Regions from separate parts of the Homo sapiens genome. Here regions 2 and 3 are each linked to region 1. Evidence: promoter capture Hi-C in 16 types of primary human blood cells and fetal thymus (Javierre and others, 2016). All regions are on one chromosome and are shown on one strand. The core of a region is centred on a gene start or on the middle of the fragment in contact, and the rest is flanking DNA. Distances in the headings are between cores, read along the strand shown. Region 1 holds the start of BRINP2 (BMP/retinoic acid inducible neural specific 2). Region 2 has its middle 98 kb from the start of SEC16B. Region 3 has its middle 67 kb from the start of LINC01741.

Region 1 (4,558 bases), core at 932-3,431:
TAAACAAATAACATACACACAACTGTGTGAGTCAGGAGGGAAAGCACACAAACTCCAGCATCACTTTGCTGTTGCCTGATGTCATCAGACTGCCCCCCGGGGGATTTGGTATACTTTAGTTGCTTGGTTAATACTGGCATTGCATGTATTTTAGCGAGCATGGTCAGAGAGAGTCACTTCAACATGCACATGTCTGGAGAAGGACAGAAGCAGAAATACTTGACTTATAATATACCTTTTATCCCTCTGATTGGTCTATGCTGACATAACAATGTCCCTGCTGAATAAGGCCTAGATTACCCAACTATAAGCTTGACCTTTTATAATTGTTATCCTTTTAACAAAACATTTGTTTCTGCTCATAGCACCCTGCTCCTAGGGCTGCAAAGAGCACACACACAATTCTTTACAGAGGGGTCTGTTCAATCACATTACAGTGCATTAGCTTGAACATTGGTTAACATTTGGCTTAGGTCTATATACCCTGGATAAATATGTACCATGCAGAGGGACTGCTTGGTGAGGAGAAGAGTCCTCTGGGCTGGAACAACAGCTCACAAGTTCGTGTTCCTACTAGGCAGGAACACTCCAGGCATCCGTGATTTGGACAGGGTGCTGGACATGCTTGGTTCTTCTGTGGGCAGCCTGTTTCCTGCATACAGCTGTGAGCACAAGCACACATACATACACACACCACAGGCAGCATTCGACAGTGTACCCAGATGATCACAAAAACAGAGACAGAGATCTGCTAGATGATACCAGCACATCCCACCTTTCAGCACAGCAATGTTCTTCCCTAGTGTCTCCAGTGCTCTGCCAGGCTCAAGTCAATCAATGGGGCTTCTGCCACCACCCTGGGGAGACTATTTGCAACCTACAGGGTTCACTGTTTGGAATTTTATTTTCCTGACTGCATGTGCATGGGAAACATGCCATAGGGCTCTATGAGCACGATAATATAGATATCGTGCATTGTAACCTCAGCTCTTTGGGCTCCTTCCCAAACATAATGAACCTCCCAGCGTCAGCTGGGCAGGCAAAAGTCCTCGTCATCTTCTGCAATTATGCAGCCCTATTGAATTTTCTGAAGCTAATAGGAGTTGCACTAACTTTGAGGACTTAAACCAGGCAAAAGCAATATAGGTCAGGCAGGGAGCCCAAACCCTCTGACAGCCATGCAACACCAGGAGGCAATACCAGAGCAATCTCTAGCTCAACCCCAAAGTCCATTGCTCAACTCCACAAGACAGAAACTAGGAGAGGTGGCATCATTCCCTCTGCCTGCCACTGCCAGGCACCAGGGCAAGAGGGTTGTATGAGAGCAAAATGGTCCCTTTACCAACGGACACACCAAAAAGGACAATGAAAAGGGGAGAAAAATCACCGAAACCCTGCACTGTTACCTTGAATCCTTGCAAGAGCCCTCCTTGCTGTATCAGCTGCTCCCCAAACCTTCAACGACTGGGAGGAGACTCCTAAAAGATTCCAGGTTTTTGTGCAACATCTCCAGTGGCAGCTTTCCAAAGTTTTTACTTCATGATTTCTTGTGGTTCTTTCTCATTTGGGGAAACGCGAATGCCTCCCCCTCAGCGTGTGAGAGGGAGCGGATGTCTCTTTTCAAATTCTCTTGCTCCCCGCTTTACTGTCGGTGCCGCCGCCGCCGCCACCGCCACCGCCGCCAACGTTAGACCACTTGCCTGCTGCCTTCCCGCTGAGCAGCCAGGATCCCGGTCTCCCAGAGCATCTTTGAAGTGGGGCTTCGGCACTGGGCCGGGGCGCACGCGGGGTGGGAGAGGTAAGGGAAGTGCAAGACCCAACTGGGGGAGTCCCCTGTCCCTCCGCCGAGGAGAAACCCAAGATTTTGCCTTCTTTCCAACTCTAAAGAGACTCACCCACCCGCTCTCTCACCCGAAATCACTGCCTTGCACATGGGCAGAGACAGGTCTTCCGGCTTCACCGCTCCCTCGGCTGCCTGCAGACCTGCCACTGACCTCGGAGCGCACGGCAGGTGCACATCCCCGGGCAAGTCCTAATGGGATCCTCCGAGCTCAGCGTAAGCGCTGCCAGCGCAGCGGCGAGCAGCTTGCGAGGCAGGCGGATTGCATCCCAGAGCTGCAGCCCGGCGCGTCCCCGCTCCGACTCCGCGCTCCGTACCTAAGCAGTGTCACCTGCAGACTCAGACACCAGATGAGTGTCTTAAGATAACAATGCTGCCCTGCCTGCCTCTCTCTTTCTTTCTTATGCATGTAGGTTGGCAGCCAATGGGACACAGCGCCACACTCCCCACAGGTGCCCATTGGCTGGGCGGCTTGGCAGGGGGCGGGCTCTGAGCCTCACCGCTCTCTCCTTTGGTGAGCTGGCAGGCTGGGGTACCAGCTCTGTTAACCCTCCCAGCGTTGCAGTGGGGACTTTTTGGTGTGTATAAGGAAGCCTTGGGTACATTCACGGGTGGGGCGTTGGACACTCTTAAAAAGGCTGGGGAACAAGAAGTAGCTGGGGAGCTAATTACATTTTCTTCTAATCTTCCTGAGTTACAATAATCATTTATCCCAGCCCATTTTGTTTGCTTGCTTAACTAGAACTCCCAGAGATTGGGACCCATCTGAGCCATTTTCCATCTAATTTGAGGTTTCATTTGGTTGTTTTGTGCATTTTTTAGCCTCTTGGATTACTTAATTAGAAATGAGCCCCCAAGTGAGAAATAGTACACACACACACACACACACACACACACACACACACCCCAGAGACCCAAGAGGAGAGAGAGGCAAAAGAGAGCAAGAACCCAGTAAGATGGCTAGAGAGTGAAACAGATTTAGAGGCCAGGACAGCTAAATCAGGAAACATTCTGCCCCCACACCAGGACTGTAAGGACAAAGGCAAAGAGGAGAACTTCAGGTTTCTGGGGAGAGATTAAGTTTCAAAAATGTCCCTCCAAAAAAGGGAATTGTTTTGCCTGTGGTGTTTTCCCTCTGTGTGTCTCCTTTCACTTCTGTGTGTGTCAGGAAGAGGGACTGTGCATCTCCGTTTAGTTTTTAAAGGAAGACTAGAGAAATCAGAACAGGACCAGCCTTGTTTCTGTGAAGCAGGTGCTGTTGCTGGGCCTGTGAATTGAAAGAGAGGGAGGGAGGAAAAAAGGGAGGGAGGTGGAGGGAAAAGGGAGGAAAGGAGAAGGGAAGAAAATATTAACTTTACATTGAAGTGTGAAGTATATATTTTTGATATCCTAATGAGGGTACAAAACTGAAACATGTCCCGCTAACTAGCATACTAAACTAGATTTTGGCAGGAGCATAGGAAAAAGAGTAATAGTTGAAGAAAAATCCAATTCAAGGGAAGAGCTGGGGGCTGGAGCTGGGGAAGGAACTTGGGAGATCCATGCTAAGTCATGTGGTGGGGGAAGTATGAAGAAGATAAATATATAGTCAGAAAGCGAGAGGAGTCTTTCAATTTAGTTTCCTTAAATGGAGAGCAACATCGGAGATTATTTTGTAAAGAACTAGAAAAAAAAAGTATGTAGAGATTTAATGAATGTGTAAGAAGTACACATGGAGATTAGCTAAACTGCATCAAGTAGCCGTAAGTTCTGAATGAATAAAGAAAAATTAGAAATTTTCTTCATTCATCCCCTCAGACTCACACATCTATCACTTTCACCTATATTTTCTTCTCTGTATCTTATACAACGTTGAACTTCCTTCTGCATACTGCAAGTATCTGTTTGCCTAAGCTACAAAACATGTCAGAGAATGGTGGTCCCACAGGGTCCTGAGCTCTCTTTCTAGAATAAAATAACCAAGAGAACCACTGAGAGCCTAAATCTATTGCTACCCAACTGCTGAGTTATTTACTTTTGTGATTTCTAGAGGCAGAGACCCACTGAACTTGTCCCAAGTGACAACATACTGAAATGTTAAAATAGCATAAGGGAGTGGGTAAATAGAGGGAGAGGTTGAACAAAGGATTGCTAATTTCAATGGAAAGAAAGTTAAAATTTCCAAAATCTGTAAAAGAGAGAGGAAAGAGGTGATGGCAGATAAGAAGACAACTTGAAAAAGAAAACTTGCTTGTACTTTCTTCTCCTATAAAGTCTGAAGCCGTGTAAAAAATTTTAAAGAGGCAGAATATACATTAAGAATTGCCACAAGTGTATAGTTTAATTCTTGCCTATATATGCATCAATGTAACCATTACTCACTTTATTTCCAGCACTGCAGGAAGCATGTTCGTGAACGTTCTCAGTCAAAACCCTCCACTCCCCAGAGATAATTATATTCTGACTTCCATCACCAAAGATTAATGTTACTTGCTCTTGAACTTTGTAAATATAGGATCTTAGAGTATACACTCTTTTGTGTCTTGATCCTTTCACTCATCATTTTGTCTCTGAGATTTATCCATGTAGTTGTATGTTTTATTGCGGTGCACCACTCTATTACATGACTACATGGCATTTATTCATTCTGTTCTTGATAGATATTTGGGATGTTTCTGGGGTTTTTTGGCTATTATAAGTAAACTTGTTATAAATGTTTTTGTGCTTGTCTTTTGGTGG
Region 2 (4,558 bases), core at 787-3,286, 700 kb before region 1:
TTAACAGTTTTTTTTTAAGGTCACATAGCTAGTAAGTGCTAAGCTGTCTTCTACGGAATAAAAACCTTGGAGACAGGTGTGTTTATTTGTCTAAGTCTCAGCATCATATAGTAGCAGCAAAGAGAATAGGATCTATGGCTAGATGGCCTGGCTTTGAATCAGGATTCTGCTTCAGCAGCCTTGTGTAAATGTGAGCAAGTTGCTCAAACTCTGTACTCCAGTTTTGTCATCTGTATAATGGGATAATAAAGGCATTAAACTCACAGAGTTGAGTGAAATTCAGAGATAACATGTGGAAAGCATCTAGAACAGTGCCTGGCATATACAGTAAGTGCTCAACAGCTGTGAACTGTTATATACCATCTCTGTTGGAGGATGGGAGTACAGGAATGAATGAGTCACAGACTGTAATCAGCTGCAGACAAGGAGGAAGACAGATGGAGACATCATTGAAATAGGGAGCCACGGGGAAGGCAGGCGGGAGGCAGAGTAGCACACAGGCGGGGTGACTAATGATGAATTAGGGCCACTCCTGTGGTCCCAGATCTTTGGTCTTTCAGGCTCTCGTTTGCCGTGGCAGGATTTTCTTCCCTTTCCCTCAAGGGTTCAGGCATACACAAGAGTTATGAAATCTGGTTGTGGAGTTTCAGGATTGTGTTTTTCCTGACAGTTGGGTCAGGAAATTAAACACTTGAAAGCACAGAGCAGAGAGAGTAGAAAAAGTCTTTTATTTGCGTTTCTTGAATATTTAACGGTAGTTAAGTCCCGAGGCAAATATAATAGAAACTTGATTAGGAGATAAAAATCATGAAAGAAGAGAGCATGAGGTGTGTTCATACGCAGGATGAGTGCTTTCTCATATTCTAATTACACTGAGCCTTAGGAATGTGTAGGAGATTAGCTACTGCTGCACAAGATCTGTAAGATTTATAAGTATATGTATTTGGGTACATGCATCATATATAAAAGTTGAGATGGAGCAGAGAGAGGGAAAAAAAGAGGGAGAGAGAGAGATTGAATTTGAAACAGGAAACCAAGTTTCCAAATCTGAAGGGGCAGAAGGGAGCACAAAATACGTGGAGGAAATGTTTGATGTACATGCTCACGTCTTAGTTCCCAGCACAGCGTCTGGTCCATAATAGGCATTCAGCAAATATTTGCTCAATCTGAATAAATAGACGGTGTTTATTCTAGTTGGTACATTGAGGATAACCTCAATGACCTTCAGATTCTGAACTTAGGTATCCCCTCTGAGAATTTATCAGAAAAACAAGCAATAAGTGAGACCAACGTTGTGAGGTATTAACTCGGAACCGTCATCTATCCTTGTGGAGAAAAACCCGGAGGACTTGGATTAGGACCCAATAGTCTACCTTGGCGGCAGGTGAGAATCACCTGGGGAGCTTTTGAAACATGAGGCTGCCAGGCTGGACCTCACTCCAGACCAATTGAACCAGAATCTCTGAGGCGGGGCCTGGGTGTTGGTAATTTTCCTTTGAAACACTCCCCAGGTGATTCTAATGGAATCTAGGAGTGAGAATCACTGGGGGAAGGCATTTGTAGATGGGAAGGCTGGTGGCATCTGCTAGAAGACTTGATGTGTACTTGGCCAGAGATAAACCACAGGTCTGGCCTGAATGGGTGTGGAAATGTGTCAGTCATGTTTTCAGATTTCCAAGGTCATTTTCCAAGAGACCTCTGTGAGCTTGGACTGGATAGCGCAGCACAGGGCCAGCGATGGCAGCTGGAAGGGTGGCTGCCTAGGAAGGAGGTAAGCTTTAATAACTGAAATAGATGCTGCACTTTCATCTACTTAATTGCTATGATTTGAAGTCTCCCATAGCCTGAAACGAGGTACCCAGGGGAGGGTGTGAGAGAAGGGGAGGGTACTGAGGGATCCTGGGGCCCCTAGACCTTATCTCATGGAAGGTGCTGGGCTGGGTCAGCAGGACTCAATTGCCTGCTGCAAAGGCCTCAGTGCTCCCCAGAGATCCGGCTCCCCACAGAGGCACTGACTGCACCACACCCTGAGATCTCACTGCCGGTCTACAGCAGGACCATTAAGATAATCAAAGAGTCTCTGGGGAGTTTGTGGAGCGTGACTGTGACCACGGGAGCATATTTTATTTTGCCTTGAACCAAACTGCTAAGGAAGAATTCTCTTACATTTTCAACAGAAAGAGGGTATCAGTCAGCCAAATAGCCCTGAGCACACTTCTAGTTAGCTAACAGCATCCCAGAAAAATAGACCTGAAGTTTCTATAAGCAGCCTGTCTCCTTCGAGACCAAAGCTTTCTCTCAGTCAGGGATGTTGTTGGGCCCCATAGTAAATTTGGGGAGACCAGGGAAAATCCAGGCTCAGGAGAGGTAAATTTTCACTGTGCTTGAATCAGGAGAATCTGATTATCAACATCAACCCTTCTCTAAAATGAATTTAAACCAACATTTAAACATGCTTCCTGCCACCTGCCCCCACTCTATAGAATTTTTCCTCGACTCTCCCCACCCCCCTACTCTCTTTCCTTCCAACAACTCCATTTCAACCACACGCACTTGATAGAATATCACACACAGGCACATTTATTATTGACCAGCTTCTTTATCTCGGATAGTATGTCATGAGTAGTCAAGACTATAGCTCTTGAAGGTAGTTTCATAGATTTAAGATGAAGAAACAGTATCCATATAGTTCCAGAGTCAAGGTAGTCTAATAGCCAGTGAAAAAATACAAGCTGTTGGAGAGTGGAAGTTTACTCATGGGAGCTGGCTTGGACTTTAGATATGAAACATTTGATTTATAGTTTCTATTTCTCTCTGATAGAAAACTCTGCTAACCCTTATTGGAAGGTCGAATGTGTTGGGTTCTTTAGCTGAGGTAGCTGTTAAAATTTATTTCACATTCAAGGAAAGGGGCTCTTGTTATTAACCATGTTCCCATTTTAATTATGATTTTCCTGGCATCATTTTTAACAAGAATAACCTAAGGCCTGCAAGGAGTGATTTCCCCTAATCACTTCTTAAACCCTCCCTCCCCACCCCCAACTAACTGCTATAGCTACAGCTACACAGATGAAATGAAATGGAGACTTGAGCAATTACCTGGTGGATCTGAACAGTGTGGAGTCAGCAGTCAATTAGAATAGTTCAATTACAAAAATCCTTTTTTCTCCCTTCTTCTTTTCTGCTATAGAATTATCACCTTAACTCTTCCTCCTCCACCCACCCTGTGTTGAGGCCTCCTTTCTCATCCTTCTGCTTCCGTTGGCCCCAGACCCCTCTCTACTGGATGGCCCTGGCTCCTCTGCCAGCCTAGCCCTCATATCTATTCCTTTTTGGGGAGAGGCCTCGAATTCCTCCTCTCCCAATTGGATGGGCTTAAGATGGGGAACCTTGTGTTACGCTGACCCCTGAACCCTCACATCATTTCCCAGGTGTCAGTGTACCTTCAGAAAGCCTGTGCCTGAGGTCCTGAGCCACATCCCCCTGGCCTTCCATGTTGCTATTCTGAGATTCTCTTTGCACACCCCGTTGGCTACCCAGATCCATTCACCTACGGGGACACTACTTATTCTTGCCAGCTTCCTTCACCAGGGAGTGAGCCTGACCCTAGTCCAGTATGATGAGAGTGCCTGCCCCCAGACACAGAAGTCACAGATATGGGTGCCAGTAGGCCTTCTGAGTATGGCTGTACCTCCTGCCAACTGGGGCTCCAAGGACTTCCTCTTCACCACAGTGGCAAACACTTGCCTGGATGTTGATTACAGATAGATAGCCAGTCCCATCTTTGGATGATTCTCACTGTCAGCCATGTCTTTCTCCTTAGCAGAGGTCTCAAGCACCTCTCCTCTGGCATGTCTTGCTGGGAATATGATCCACCATACCAGATATGTATTCATCTATTCAGCCATTTAACACGTGTTTATTAAGCACTTACTATGTACCAAGCTTTCTGCTAGATGCTGGGGAAAACAACTTACAAACCCTTATTTACTCTTACATACGTATTCATATGTACCTTTAAGGAATGAGTATTAATTTGCCAGCAATGCCCTAACAAAATACCACAAAGCATGTTTAAACTTGGCTTAAACAACAAAAAATTTATTTCGTCACAGTTCTGAAGGTTAGAAGTCCAAAATCAAGGTATTCGCAGGGTTGCTTCCTTCTGAGGTCTGTGAGGAAGAATCTGTTTCAGACTGGAACACTACCTTTCACCATTAAACAAAAATTCACTCAAGATGGATTAAAGATTTAAATGTAAGACCTCAAACTATAAAAATCCTAGGAAAAAACCTAGGAAATACTATTCTGGACATTAGTCTTAGGAAAGAATTTGTGACTAAGTCTTCAACAGTGATCGCAACAAAAACAAAAATTGACAAATGCAGACCTAATTAAAGAGCTGCATAGCAAAATAAATTATTAACAGAGTAAACAGACAACCTATAGAATGGGAGAAAATACTTGCAAACTATGCATCTGACAAAGGTCTAATATCCAGAATCTATAAGGAACTTAATGCAACAAGCAAAAAACAACCCCATTAAAAAGTGGGCAA
Region 3 (4,558 bases), core at 1,191-3,690, 600 kb before region 1:
CTGGCACCTTTGGTCCTTGGCTAGTGGTGTCTATATATAACAAGATGTTATATATAGTGTCAGAAGATTCTAGTTAATGTAGGTCTTCCATCTCTAGGAACCAGTGGCTGGAAGAACCATGACCTCACTAGTTAATAATATCCCTCATGTTGGATGGAAAATAATAATAGCCACCATGAAAACAATAGATAACGTTTACTGAATGCTTCTGTATGCCTGTGTTAAGCTAAGTGCTTAATGTGCATTATTTAATTTAGGCATCTGAACAATCTTATGAGGTTTTCATGGAACAAAAATTAAACACTTGCTATGTGCTTCTCATTGTTTTAGGCACTTGGGATAGATTAGTGAACCAAACAATAGAAGAGAATAAATAGCAGACATAATAAGTGCATTATACGGAATGCTAGAATGTGATAAGCACTATGGAAAAAGAAAAAGCAGAGTGGGGAAAGAGATGTTTGGAGTAAGCACAGGGTAGGTAGAGTGGTCATGAAGAAGGTGATGTTGGATCAAAGACATGAAGAGGTGAGCCATGCAGAGAGGTGGAGGTAAGAGCACAGCCAGTGCATGGGAGCATGCTGAGTGCTTTGAGGAGAAGCAGGGGTAGGGGAAGACTGTGGAGGGAATGGGGGAGTGGAGTAGGAGATGAGGTCAGAGAGGTCAGGTGGGGGTGGATTGAGTGGGAATGCAATGGAGTCATTGGAGGGTTTTGAGGAAAAGATTGAGAAGATCTGATTAATTCTGGCTGTGGCAGAATAGTAGTTTATTTTTCCTACTTTATAGCCAAGGAAATTGGATTTAGATGGGTTAGGTAAACTGCCCAAGGTGACAGAGCTAGTAAGTGGCAGAAAATGACATTCTTTTAGGTCTAGCTAACATCAAATCCCATGCCCTTAAAAACTACACTGGATAACTATATTATCTATACGCCAAGGCATCCTTTCCTGCAAAGAGATGATTTTCACTGATTCCTCATAAGTCTTCCCTCTGCTATACCTGCTTCTCTTTTCCCTGTCCAACCATGCTGGGAGGTGGTAATTTTTGTTCAATCTCATAAAAAGCTTTAATCTCTTGCTATCAGGGTATCCTCTTGCCTGGTTGTTTATTTGCAGATTCATCTCATACTAAGAGAGAATTCCTTGAGATTCTATCTGTCTTTTGTTACGCTACTAAGGGAATGGTGAGTGTGTGGCGATACTGCTTCATGTCTGTGCCCACTAGAAGAATGATTCCAGGTATTGGACACCCTGATACCCTCTTCAGTGGCCTGGAGAGTTGATGGCCAAGGGATCATAGCCACTCAGTGGGAAATCAGCTGTATTTCATTCCTTTTCCCGAACTAGCACTTCTGTCTCAGTAGGGGCCCTGTTAATGAATCAATTAAGGAGGGTATTATTATTGGAAGTTGTTTTCAGACCAATTAAGACCTTTCGACATGTCAGTTGTGATAATAAAAGTGAGTTAAGTCTCCATTTTTCTTTATTAGGGTGTTTATTAGAAGATTGAAATGTTCATTAGGTGGAATAAAGCTATACATTCATCTTCTGCTCATCAGAAGCATAATGGAAACTCTATTGTCACTCAGGGCTAATGTGGTGGCCTTTTCTTACAGAGAGCTGAGTTCTAACCTTGCTTTGGCTGCAGGTAAAAATAAATTTGTGAGAGTCACAGTTCTGGCTAGGGAATTTTCTTTTGCCTGACATGAGCCTGGAAATGTCTGCTTGCTTAGGAGTAAGATAGTGGGTCAATGTACGGAATATTGATGAGCCATGCATGAGAACTGGGGAGGGTGGAAGCTTGTGCCAGACCGTGTGATGAGCCCAGGGACTAAAATTACAGATTTTGAAACTTTATAATTTTTGGCCATAAACATATTCAAATATATACAAAAATATAAGAAGTAAATTATTAACATCCATATAGCCTTCTCCCAGCCTTAACAAATTTTAACATTTCCCCCAAATTTACTTCCATTTTTTTGGTTGATAAAACATTGTAGATTTAGTTGAAGCTTCTTATGTAGCCCTCCTTGACTTCATACCCACTACCCACCCTGCATTCTCAAGAGTTAATGATCCTCCTGAATTTTATATTTATCGTCCCCTACAGGTTTTTATGCCATTACTCTACATATTCTCTGTGTGTATTTGTAAGAATATAAAGTAGTCTTTTGCTTGCTTCCAAACTTTGTATAAATTTTTATCATATGGTATATATCTTTTTGCATCTTGCTTTTATTCATGCAATATTTTGTTTTGGAGATTTATCCATGTTGACACATGAAGGTTTATTTACTTTCCTTGTTGTATAGTATTTCATTGTCTTCATATTTACCTCAAGGAATTTGTCCATTCTCCTGTTGGTGAACATGTTTACAATTTTTTCTGATTACAGATAATAACTGCAGTGAACATCCCTGTACATGTTTCCTTATGTACACTTGCAAGAGCTTCTCTACACTAGGGTTTCTCACACTAAAAAAGATAGAAATGCATTTTGCACTGCAACTTTTGCATGTGCACACACACACATATCCCACAAATGAAAGTTTACTGAAACGATACTTCTATATCCATGAAGAACTCTGATATCTGTTATATTCCGTCTATTCTGACTTATCCTATTCTATTTATTTCTTTTAATATTGCATTTCTTTTCAATTAAAAAATGCTGGTTGTGATTCACTAAATCAATTCACGATTCTATGGGTCACCGCATGCAGTTTTAAATGCACTATTCTGTGGTATATTACCAAAAAGTGAGAATTTTGGTCGTCTTCGTTTTACTATTCATAAATTGTTTTCCTAAGTGGCATGCTCTTTATTTTTAATTTTTGGGTGTTTTGCTTTAGGTATAAAGCTTTAGGTGTCTGCTTTAAGTGATAATAATCATATTTAAAACAAATTCCAATCTGATATTCTCTGATGTTTTATTGAAATTTTAATCTGTATACACACCATGAGATATTTGGACTTATTTTGATATTTTTGTTTTGTGTTTTTATCATCCTTGTCCCTTGCTTCTTTTATCTTTTTTCCTTCTTGCCTTCTGTTGATTGATAAATTTTCTATATTCCTACCATCAACTTCTTAGATTTTCCCTGCTGGTTTGGAAGATAAAGATTGTAGCACTATTCTTTTATTGATAGCTTCCCCTACCCTTTAAAAAATTCACACTCCATTATAAATATTTGTAAGTTCAAATTGTTAAGTAGTTTTATCCTTCTTCTGAATGTGGACCTAGTGCCCTTTATCCACTGAGCATAACTCTTGCATAGCTTCTTGTTATTGTCTAAAGTTTAGCTTTATTCATTCTTTAAACATACAAAAGTTGTCAACTTTTATGTCAATAGCTAATTAAATTTATTGATTTCAATACTTTTCTGTTCTCAAATCTTATTTCTGGCATTCCATGTTTACTCTCTGAATTCACTTTTCTTCTTGTTGAAGTACATCCTTTTGCATATCTTTTACTTTGTCTTTTTGCAATGGAAAATTACCTTTATTTTGTCAGTATTGAACAGTATTTTAACAGGCTCTATAATTCTAGGTTGACATTTATTTTTCCTTAGCATTTAAAAGACATAACTCCATTGTCATCTGTCTTCTATGCTGGTGGTGGGAAATCTACAGTCATTTGAAATGCCAGTTTTTAATTTTTAAGGCAATCTGGCTTTTCTTTCTGGAAGCTTTTAAGCTTTTTTCTCCCTTTTCTGTCCCTTTTCTTCTTGATGGTCTGCAGGTTCACCAGGAGTGTCAGATGTGGATTTGAATTTCTTTTTCCTGCTTAGTAGTCAGAGAATAGTCTTGATTTGATGACTCTTGCATTATTAAATTTTGGAAAATTCTTAGTTTTCTATTCTCTTCTGGAACATCTCCCGTTTTATTAGAAATCTTTCATTCTATTCTCTGTTTCTTAACTGCCTTTTAATGTGTATTTTCTCTGTGATATATTCTGAGTGAATTTCTTAATACAAGTTTTCATATATGAATCATCCTTTTGAATGTCCATGTTAGTGTTTATACCATTATGTGAAATTTAAATTTAATGATCTCTCTCATTTATAAGGTTTTAAATTGGGACCTCTTCATTTCCACTCAGTTTCTGTAGTTTCATAATTTCTTGCCCTTTTAAAATAGAAACTGTGCCTTATTAGTCTCTTGGAGTTTTCTAAACATAATTCTTTCAAAGTCTTTGTCAGACTGTTTTATAAAATTAATTTAATCTGGGATGGATTTATGTTCCAATGGGTGACTCTGTTAACTGTTTTTCTTTTTCTTTTTATTATTATTATTATACTTCAAGTTTTAGGGTACATGTGCACAATGTGCAGGTTAGTTACATATGTATACATGTGACATGCTGGTGCGCTGCACCCGCTAACTCGTCATCTAGCATTAGGTATATCTCCCAATGCCATCCCTCCCCCCTTCCCCCACCCCACAACAGTCCCCAGAGTGTGATGTTCCCCTTCCTGTGTCCATGTGTTCTCATTGTTCAATTCCCACCTATGAGTGAGAATATGCGGTGTTTGGTTTTTGGTTCTTGCAATAGT

What was found. The method cuts DNA at HindIII sites, captures the fragments that hold promoters and counts their contacts. A CHiCAGO score of 5 or more calls a contact.
Region 2: a contact is called between a fragment that was not itself captured here and the fragment with the promoter of BRINP2 in region 1, in 1 of 17 cell types (endothelial precursors). The highest score is 5.4, in endothelial precursors.
Region 3: a contact is called between a fragment that was not itself captured here and the fragment with the promoter of BRINP2 in region 1, in 1 of 17 cell types (endothelial precursors). The highest score is 6.3, in endothelial precursors.

Annotation. Positions count from the first base shown.
Region 1 is chr1:177,168,581-177,173,138 of GRCh38, reverse strand. It overlaps BRINP2 (BMP/retinoic acid inducible neural specific 2), which reads right to left and starts at 2,181. Exons shown (of 8, transcript NM_021165.4): 1 at 1,407-2,181. RefSeq lists enhancers at 1,365-1,953, 1,954-2,543. The HindIII fragment of the contact is 5,424 bases long and covers 314-4,558 here.
Region 2 is chr1:177,869,308-177,873,865 of GRCh38, reverse strand. No RefSeq gene overlaps it. Among named protein-coding and RNA genes, the nearest start is that of SEC16B, 98 kb to the left of the region's middle. The HindIII fragment of the contact is 515 bases long and covers 1,779-2,293 here.
Region 3 is chr1:177,765,270-177,769,827 of GRCh38, reverse strand. No RefSeq gene overlaps it. Among named protein-coding and RNA genes, the nearest start is that of LINC01741, 67 kb to the right of the region's middle. The HindIII fragment of the contact is 848 bases long and covers 2,017-2,864 here.